3 separate regions of the Homo sapiens genome follow, and regions 1 and 3 are each linked to region 2. The links are contacts of gene promoters, found by promoter capture Hi-C in blood cells and fetal thymus (Javierre and others, 2016). All regions are on one chromosome and are shown on one strand. The core of a region is centred on a gene start or on the middle of the fragment in contact, and the rest is flanking DNA. Distances in the headings are between cores, read along the strand shown. Region 1 has its middle 64 kb from the start of HTR4. Region 2 holds the start of SPINK6 (serine peptidase inhibitor Kazal type 6). Region 3 has its middle 85 kb from the start of HTR4.

Evidence for each region. The method cuts DNA at HindIII sites, captures the fragments that hold promoters and counts their contacts. A CHiCAGO score of 5 or more calls a contact.
Region 1: a contact is called between a fragment that was not itself captured here and the fragment with the promoter of SPINK6 in region 2, in 7 of 17 cell types (endothelial precursors, M0 macrophages, megakaryocytes and 4 more). The highest score is 8.5, in endothelial precursors.
Region 3: a fragment that was not itself captured here is called in contact with the fragment with the promoter of SPINK6 in region 2 in 1 of 17 cell types (M1 macrophages); the score reaches 6.1 in M1 macrophages.

The regions. Positions count from the first base shown.
Region 1 is chr5:148,717,409-148,720,108 of GRCh38, reverse strand. No RefSeq gene overlaps it. Among named protein-coding and RNA genes, the nearest start is that of HTR4, 64 kb to the right of the region's middle. RefSeq lists an enhancer at 15-586. The HindIII fragment of the contact is 1,112 bases long and covers 870-1,981 here.
Region 2 is chr5:148,201,595-148,204,294 of GRCh38, reverse strand. SPINK6 (serine peptidase inhibitor Kazal type 6) reads right to left here and starts at 1,253. Exons shown (of 4, transcript NM_205841.4): 1 at 1,141-1,253. The coding sequence starts at 1,198. The HindIII fragment of the contact is 4,979 bases long and covers 26-2,700 here.
Region 3 is chr5:148,738,315-148,741,014 of GRCh38, reverse strand. No RefSeq gene overlaps it. Among named protein-coding and RNA genes, the nearest start is that of HTR4, 85 kb to the right of the region's middle. The HindIII fragment of the contact is 1,312 bases long and covers 658-1,969 here.

The DNA of each region.
Region 1 (2,700 bases), core at 176-2,675, 520 kb before region 2:
CAAAGAATTCTCAGATTAGGGTGCAATGTGCTTATTTTAGCTTGAAGTAGAAGTGGAAAACTGCGTGGAGAAGAGGGCAAAGAGGTCATTGCTGATTACACACGTTGCTCCAAGTTCTCAATTCTGTACTCTTCTTTGGTTAGTGCTTCTCACTGCCTTAACTGACCTTACAGGACTTCAACAACTGCCTGCTTAACTACATGTCCATTACTAGCCCCCTGTGTTCTCTTAAAGTCCAGACCTGTATCACAGAGGCGTCTTCCTACAGTCATCATTTGACTGGTAGGGGGCTTAATTAATTAGCATTTGTAAGATGTCTCCAGCCCGTTAGTGGATTAGAGGTAATTTGGAAAGCAGCGCCAAGAGCTTTCTATTACCTTCCTCTCTGCTGGTCTCTTTTCCTGCTTCTGGAGTAACTGGCATTGATGTTGACTCAAATGAACTTAAACTTGTTATCCTGTCTCATTTGATTTTTCATTAAATAGATTCCAAAGTATCCCAGAAACACTTTACAATGATCAGTCATTTCTCCTACAGACTAAACAAATTCAATGTTAATGAATAATGCAGTTTTATAATTGCACAAAGGGTGAAGTGTTTGAAACCACAGATAAAATATCTTGGATTCTTAGAGTTTTCTTTTATAAAAACCCTTCTCCTGTAGCCAACTTGGACATCATAGCTCTCCCATGACCGCCACCTAGTAATCCCTTCCTCACACTTAATGAACGCTTCCTTGACAGTCATAGAATTTAAATGTTTTGTTCTTTTTTTCATACCTTGATTGAATATTTTTTGTTCTGTTCTTATTTAGCCACACAGAGAATGATGCAATTAGGAAATACATTTGGGGGCTAATAAGGAAAGCTTGAACCAATACGGTTTAACAAGATGAAGGTTTGTTTTTTCTCATATACAGGTAGTCTGTAGGTTGACTTTCTATAGTTGTAGAAGTGGTTCTAGGATACCACCTATGTCCTAGACTGCTATCTTTTTATTCTGTCGTCATTAACATGTGACTTCCAACTTCAAGGAGCAAGACAGACAAAGTAGCTCCAGATATCAAGTCTTTATTCCGGGCAGGAAGAGGGAGGAAATATGGAAAAACAAAAAAGAGCCTCTTACCCTTCCTGAAAGCCTTATCCAGAACTTAGTTACCTGGCCACTGCTATCTTAAAATGAGGCTGAAAAAAGTAATTTTGTATCAGTGCACACCGATATCCCTGACAAAACTAGGTTTCTATTCTGAAGGAGGAAGGGAAAATGGGCATGAAATTGGTAATTATCAGCTTTTGCCACACAGCACTTTTTGACAGTATGTCTTAATAATCCTTAAGTCAATAATAAGTTACAAAAATAAGTGAAATACACACCTACCCCAGTGGTCATGGGCCTTTTGGGGTGCTAGATGACTTAATAGAGTACAGAGATCATTTTATCTGGAAGAATATTAATAAATCGTTATTTGCCACATGGTACCCAGCAATGACAAAAAGTAGATGCAAAGGGAGAAAACTTTTTAAAATCTTTATTAGCGTAGCGGAAATACTAACTTTCCTAGGCTTCTTCCTGCAGGTTCACCTGCAATTACTCTGAAGCAAAAGGGACTGGTGTTCCTTGTCCAAGAGCCCTGTCTAATCTATTATTCTTCTAGTTGGATTTTTGTTAGCTACTATATGTTCTGTACCATATTAAAGGTGGGTTGCTTCATGAGTTAAATATAAATAGGACAGCACCCCAACAGGGGAAGCAGAAGGCCACAGTGGGATTCTAAATTTGTGTCAACAACAACAACAATAACAAAACAAATGATACTTGTTGTGCAACTATCTAGCCATTGGCCATTTTCAAAATCTTTCTGCCTTAGGGAGATAATGACAGATTATTTGGGGTTGGAGGCAGTGTAGGGAAGAGATGGATAGGAGAAGACTAGGCAATTTTCTGAGTTTAGTGTAAGAAAAATGCCCAGTAGATAGAAGCTTAGCAGGTATTCAGTCAATGCTCGTTTCCTGTACCCTTTGTGATTCTGGAGCTAAGAAGTTTAGAAACTACCAGGGAGTTAAGTTCATGAAAGCATTTCATCTCCACTAAATTTTGTACCATCATCCAGAAGTAATGAAGCAAAATTGCTGAGATCCTTTTCACACCAGGGATTAGAAAACCTTTTCTCTGCCATCCTTTAGTGGCTTACTATGTAGCATTTGTGGCTTAGATCTTACCCAGAAACTACTTCCATCAGCAAAATACAGCATCCTGCGATCCTGTCACCTACTTTTTGCCTTCTCTTGGCTCTAACAGATGTTGTTTTCAGGGAGCCAGAAACAGAACCAATGTATCCTTTGATTCACTTAAGATTGCGGTTCAAGTTTGCGGAGATGCCATTTTTCCAGTAAGGTCTCTTCATTTGTTTTAGTCTGTTCTCACACTGCTATAAAGAACTACCTAAGATTGGGTAATTTATGAAAAAAAGAGGTTTAATTGACTCATAGTTCTGCAGGCTTAACAGGAAGCATGACTGGGAGGCCTTGGGAAATTTACAATCATGGCAGAAGGTGAAGGGGAAGCAAGCACCTTCTTCACATGGCAGAGCAGGAGAGGCAGAAGGTGAAGGGAAAGCAAGCACCTTCTTCACATGGCAGAGCAGGAGAGACAGAGAGTGAAGGAGGAAGTGTCACATACTTTTAAACCATCAGATCTCCT
Region 2 (2,700 bases), core at 4-2,503:
GTTATTTGGCTTTAGTAGTCAAGCTTACTCCATAATATCACAGGAATCCTTTACCCATTTTTTTTGTATTTCTAAGTGTATTTGTTTTTGTAATTATGACCAGCTACAGTGAACACTGGCTTCTCTATCAGCTAAATCTCATTGATTTTTTTTTTACTTGTACATCCATTTAAAATCTTGCATAGTAGTAAAATTCATCTGCTACTGTCACACAAAATGATACATAAGATATGGAAGGTCCCAGGGCTTAGTTTTATTTCTATTATTTTACAAATGACAAAATATCTCAGAAAATTATGTTATTTCTTTAAGTGACACAGGCCATTAATAGAAGAGATGAAACTAGGTCTTAGGTCTAAAAACTAGCATTTGCTTTGTGCCCTACAACGTGAAAGAGTAGAATAATAAGGAAGAAAATAGCTTATGATGGACCTGCTCATTCCGATGGTTCTGTCTTAAAAAACATAACCTTGAAGTATGATTGTGCTTTGAACCTCACTAAAGTGTCCAAAGATATTCTCCTTCTCTAAGATTATTTAGCTCACCAGAAACATATGTTTCTGCATTCTAAGTTTCAATTACATATTTTCAAAGATTTTTCTCATTGAGTTTCCAATTTCCCCATTGTCTTAATTTAATTATTTGAATGTCTTTGTAATAATAACTAAGGGGAGGAAAATATTTCTTTGTTCTGGAAAGCAAAACCAATATTTAATGCAATTATCCATCCTCCAATCTAGTTTTATGGAACAAACATTAAATGTGATGGCAAGAGAATCTGATTCAAATTCCAGATTCTAACTACTAGTTGCAAGTCTTTTGCTGATTTTCTCAATTTCTCTGTTCCACAGTTTCTTATATGAAGAACAGAGATAGAAATACCTTATTATGAGTCTCAGAGACAATACATAAAATCCCTTCGTACATGCCTAGAATATAGTATATGCTCAACAAATCACAGTAATTTTAATAATTATTACCATAACCATTGTCGTCATCACAATCATTATCATCATTATGATAATCTCTCAGAATTGGTCTTTTACATCAAAATCATTAGGATTTAAAATATGATAAACAACTACTCATCATATCCAGTTCAGTATAAATATGGGATCTTAATTTTAAGAAAAAACTTACCTGTTAAAAAGCAGAAAAGAGCCAGAGAGAGGAGCAGAAACATGCCTGACAGTTTCATTGTGTCAGTTAGCTCACTCAGATCAAGGCTGCTTTGTCCAGCTGAGGTTCTCTGTCAAGACAATTCCCAGAAAGCCCTAAAATACATTCAGACCACATGAGTCCTATGCAGTTTATGCATTTAATGGGGCCTGCCAACACATTAAAAAAATGCTTCATGCTCCCCATCAATCTTAAAAATTGGGACAATTATGTGTGTCGCACCTCAGATCTTATTAATAGAGAATGTCATTTTCTACTGGTAGCCTACATTTTCCTAACAACCAATACATCCTCCCGGCTCTTCTTTCTAAAGTTTCACTACATTATAGGGATGATTCACTGGTTGACTTCCACTTGATTCTTATATTTCTTTCAGACAGGTCCTACATGTCTGTGGTCCAAGTGAGTAACCACAGGATAATGGAATCTTGGGTGTAACTTGGATTTTTAGAGTCCAGATCATCCAAGGTGTACCTAAAGGAGACAGATATTCCACACTGTAGCTAGAACTGCATTAGAAGAAGCATTTTCTGAGCAGGAATCAGCTTATTAATTTTTAAATCATTATAGCAGTCAAATGCCAGTGGTTGTCCAGTTTTGAGTCAAAATAAATAGGGAAGTCAATTATTTTCTTTAATTTGTAACAAAAATTTGTTTTTTAAAGTTACTGAATTTAATTTTCTTTTTTTTTTTTCTTTCTTTTTTTTTTTTTTTTTTGAGATGGAGTCTTTCTCTGTTGCCCAGGCTGGAGTGCAGTGGTGCAATCTTAGCTTACTGCAGTCTCTGCCTCCCGGGTTCAAGCGATTCTCCTGCCTCAGCCTCCCGAGTAGCTGGGACTACAGGTGCCTGCCACCATGCCTGGCTAATTTTTGTATTCTTAGTAGAGACGGGGTTTCACCATGTTGGCCAGGCTGGTCTCAAACTCCTGACCTCATGATCCGCCTGCCTCGGCCTTCCAAAGTGCTGGGATTATAGGCGTGAACCACTGTGCCTGGCCTGAATTGAATTTTTGAAATGAGCAATATATTTCCTTTTACTTTTCATATAAAAGTTAGATGAATCACATTATCTTTCATGGCCAATTTAATTGCAAGATAGATCAAAGAGTGCGATGCCACAACCTTCTTTCAGGAAACAGCAACAAAAAAGAATGGTTGTAGTGATAACAAGAACGTCTACCTCAAATCATAAACTGCTATTGAAAATATCATGAGGGAAATCATCTTAAAGTCCTTTACAGAAAGATGTAGGTCAGATGTTAAAAGTATTCAAAGACACTACTGAAAAACCTTAAAAACTATATTTAAAATTTTCTTGAATCCTTTATGGGAAGAGGAGTCAAAATAGCTAGAAAAACAAAATATATGGGAAATTGCTTAAGTCATGAAATTTAAAAACAACAGTTGTACAATTTACCCATTTGTGATCTTTAAGTATGTTTTCTCATTCATATGAGATAATATAAAGATCAGTTCCTAAAACTAAAGCATTGCATAGCATGGTTTTAGGTACTGCTGTGAC
Region 3 (2,700 bases), core at 64-2,563, 540 kb before region 2:
TATTCTTGCATTTCAACAATTGGCTGGAGCTGAGAAGCAGCTGCCCCTTTAGACGCAGCTACTCTGTCAGACCCACATTGGCTGTTCTGTCCACTCACTTATTTCAGTTTGATCTCTTTTCCGAGATATCCAGGCATTTGGTGGATTTTGATTCTCCATGTTTATTCCTAAGGAAACTTATCTCCAAATCTCTCCAATCTTTCTTCCAACAAAGCCCAGTTTCCAGAAGAAGTAATTATAACTGCACAATTATCAAGGGCATAATATATTTCTTGATAACCCTGACATAAATTAAGGGCCATTTATTTGTCTGGGTTTCTGTTCCTGTTAAAAATAATCTCTTTGCTCAATGTCCCACACTTGGTTATTTTCCTTCCTCTTTGCTTGGTGAAACAGAAGGCTCTTTTAGAGATTTTGACTGTTTCTCATTATTATTTATCCAACAGATACTTAATGAGCACTTCCTAAGTGCCCGGACCTCTGCTTCATGTGAGAGATGTATCTGAGAAGGGGACGGACATGCACCTAACGGTGCCAGCGATGTGGCCATTATGAAAGATCGTGATGTTGTAGGAACATACAGAAGGAACACTGTGCCTAATATGGGGATGGGAATAGGATCGAGGGGATGTTCCTAGAAAAATTAATGTTGAAGCTTAGACCTTGAGATAAGTAGTGATTTGCCAAGGAGGGAGAACCTTGCACAAATGCCCAGACCAGATTCGAGAGAGTCATGGGGCATGGAGAGGAACTGAATAGTGTCCTTGAGCTCTGCCGAGGAGCACAGACTTTATCTGGAGGGTAACAAGGAGCAAAGAGAGCTTATGAGCAAGGGAGTGAATATTTAGGTCTGTGTTTTTAGAACATCACTCCATCTCTTAAAACTTATTTTAGGAGACTTGGCTGAGAGCTAGGGCTCTCATTCCTTTAGACACTTTCTAGTTCAGTTTTATAAGGGACAAGTTTATTCTGAAGGACTCCAGGAGAGGCACCATCAACATCCTCACAGTGCTGCTGTGCTGGCTGTTGCTTCGCCCCTGGGGCCTCTCTTGTTTTGCCCTTTAGATTCTTGTTGTTTTTGCCCCACTTTCCTTGTAGATATCTCTTGTTTTCTCTGTAGTTCCCTCATCGCTTTCCACGTAATTAAGGCATCTTCCTGGAGCTACTGAGGGTTTGTGGTTGCCTGGAGAACCACAGCAACAATGTCATGAGCTCCCCCACCCATCCCAGGGAGCCCTGGGATCAAAAAGTCAGCTTCAAAGCCTAGTTGGAAGTAGTCAATGCAAAGCCAAAAGTCAACAAACATTTCTCCAGAGTCTTGGCACCAGAAGGCCTTTCTCTTGTTCCTTTTACTCAATTCCCAGCTGGTTAGCAGCCTGAACTTCTGCCTACCATCCCCTTCCATGGCAGCTCCCAACTGTGCTGTAAGATTATTGAGGGAGGCTAGGAATAGAGACTTAATACTGAGAAGACACTTAAGCACTTGATCCAATCCAATTCCCTATTTTATCAAGAATACCGTCCTGCTTCCTGACTTCCTGACTTTTGAAATGAGCTAGTATGGGTGCCTGACACTGCTGGTTCTGGTTTGAGCACATACAGTCACTGACTACGTGGACTCAGGAAACTATTTCACTTCTTTGGGCCCTGGTTTCCTTTTCTGTAAAGTGAGAATAATAATCCCTGCACTGCCTACTTCACAGGGTTATTTTGAGGAGGAGAAAATGACTCTATAGTTGCATTCAATCATTTACGAAAACATATATTGATTACTCAGCCATGTGCCAGCTAAAGGGGGATGAAAGCTCCTGTTAAACTGTAACGTGTTACACAAATATCACATTCTCAGATGTAGAAAACTCATTATCGACTGGGTCAGACTGGGTGTGTTTGTCCTGCTTCCCTCACCTGTCTTGCCTCCAGTTAGGTTCTTGGGTATTGCCCGCATGTAAACATTCAAGGCAAAGCTTTAGCAAGAAACCTAATACATAGAAAGTATTGACTAGCATTAGAAAGAGCTATGGTGACAAGGCCTCTGTGTATTTGAAAGCTTCATTAAGTCCCGCTGCAGACGGCCATATGTGATAGGATGGTATATCACACTTTTCCTATTATTCCAGTATTGACAAGTAGAACCCCAAACAATGGACAAAGAGGATCTAGTGCCACATTCTAAAGATTGCCAGCAATAGCTGGAGCCAGAACACTGTTCCCCCCACAAATCCCCAGGGCTTCTTAAAAGTCAAAACTGGCCCTGCTACCATGAGCCTTTCCGCTTTCTCCTCCCTCCTTCTTTCTAGGCTATGTAAGCAGACGTCTAGGAAAGGAGGAAAGGGAGGGAGAAGGAGTCATTACAGGAGTCAGACTGTAGGGAGGAAAGTGTTCATGGAAGGATCTATAGGGTTTAAAATCCCAATGGGAAAGAGATGGGATCCTCAAATTAGAACAATTCAGAGACGGTTTGCTTGTAAGGAGGAGGCACAAAGGCTGATGCAGTCACCCAGGGGTAGTGGCAGCAGAGGTGTTTCTAATTCTAAGCCCAAAGGGACGAAAGGAGGGAACTGCATTAAGAACCAGAAGGAGAGAGCCATCTTCAAATCTTTTAGAAATATTTTCCAGTGGTCAGGCAAGAGATAATGGTGGCCCTAATATAGAACTGTCAGGACAGTTGGAGAAAAAGGTGAAAGTATGAGAGCTATT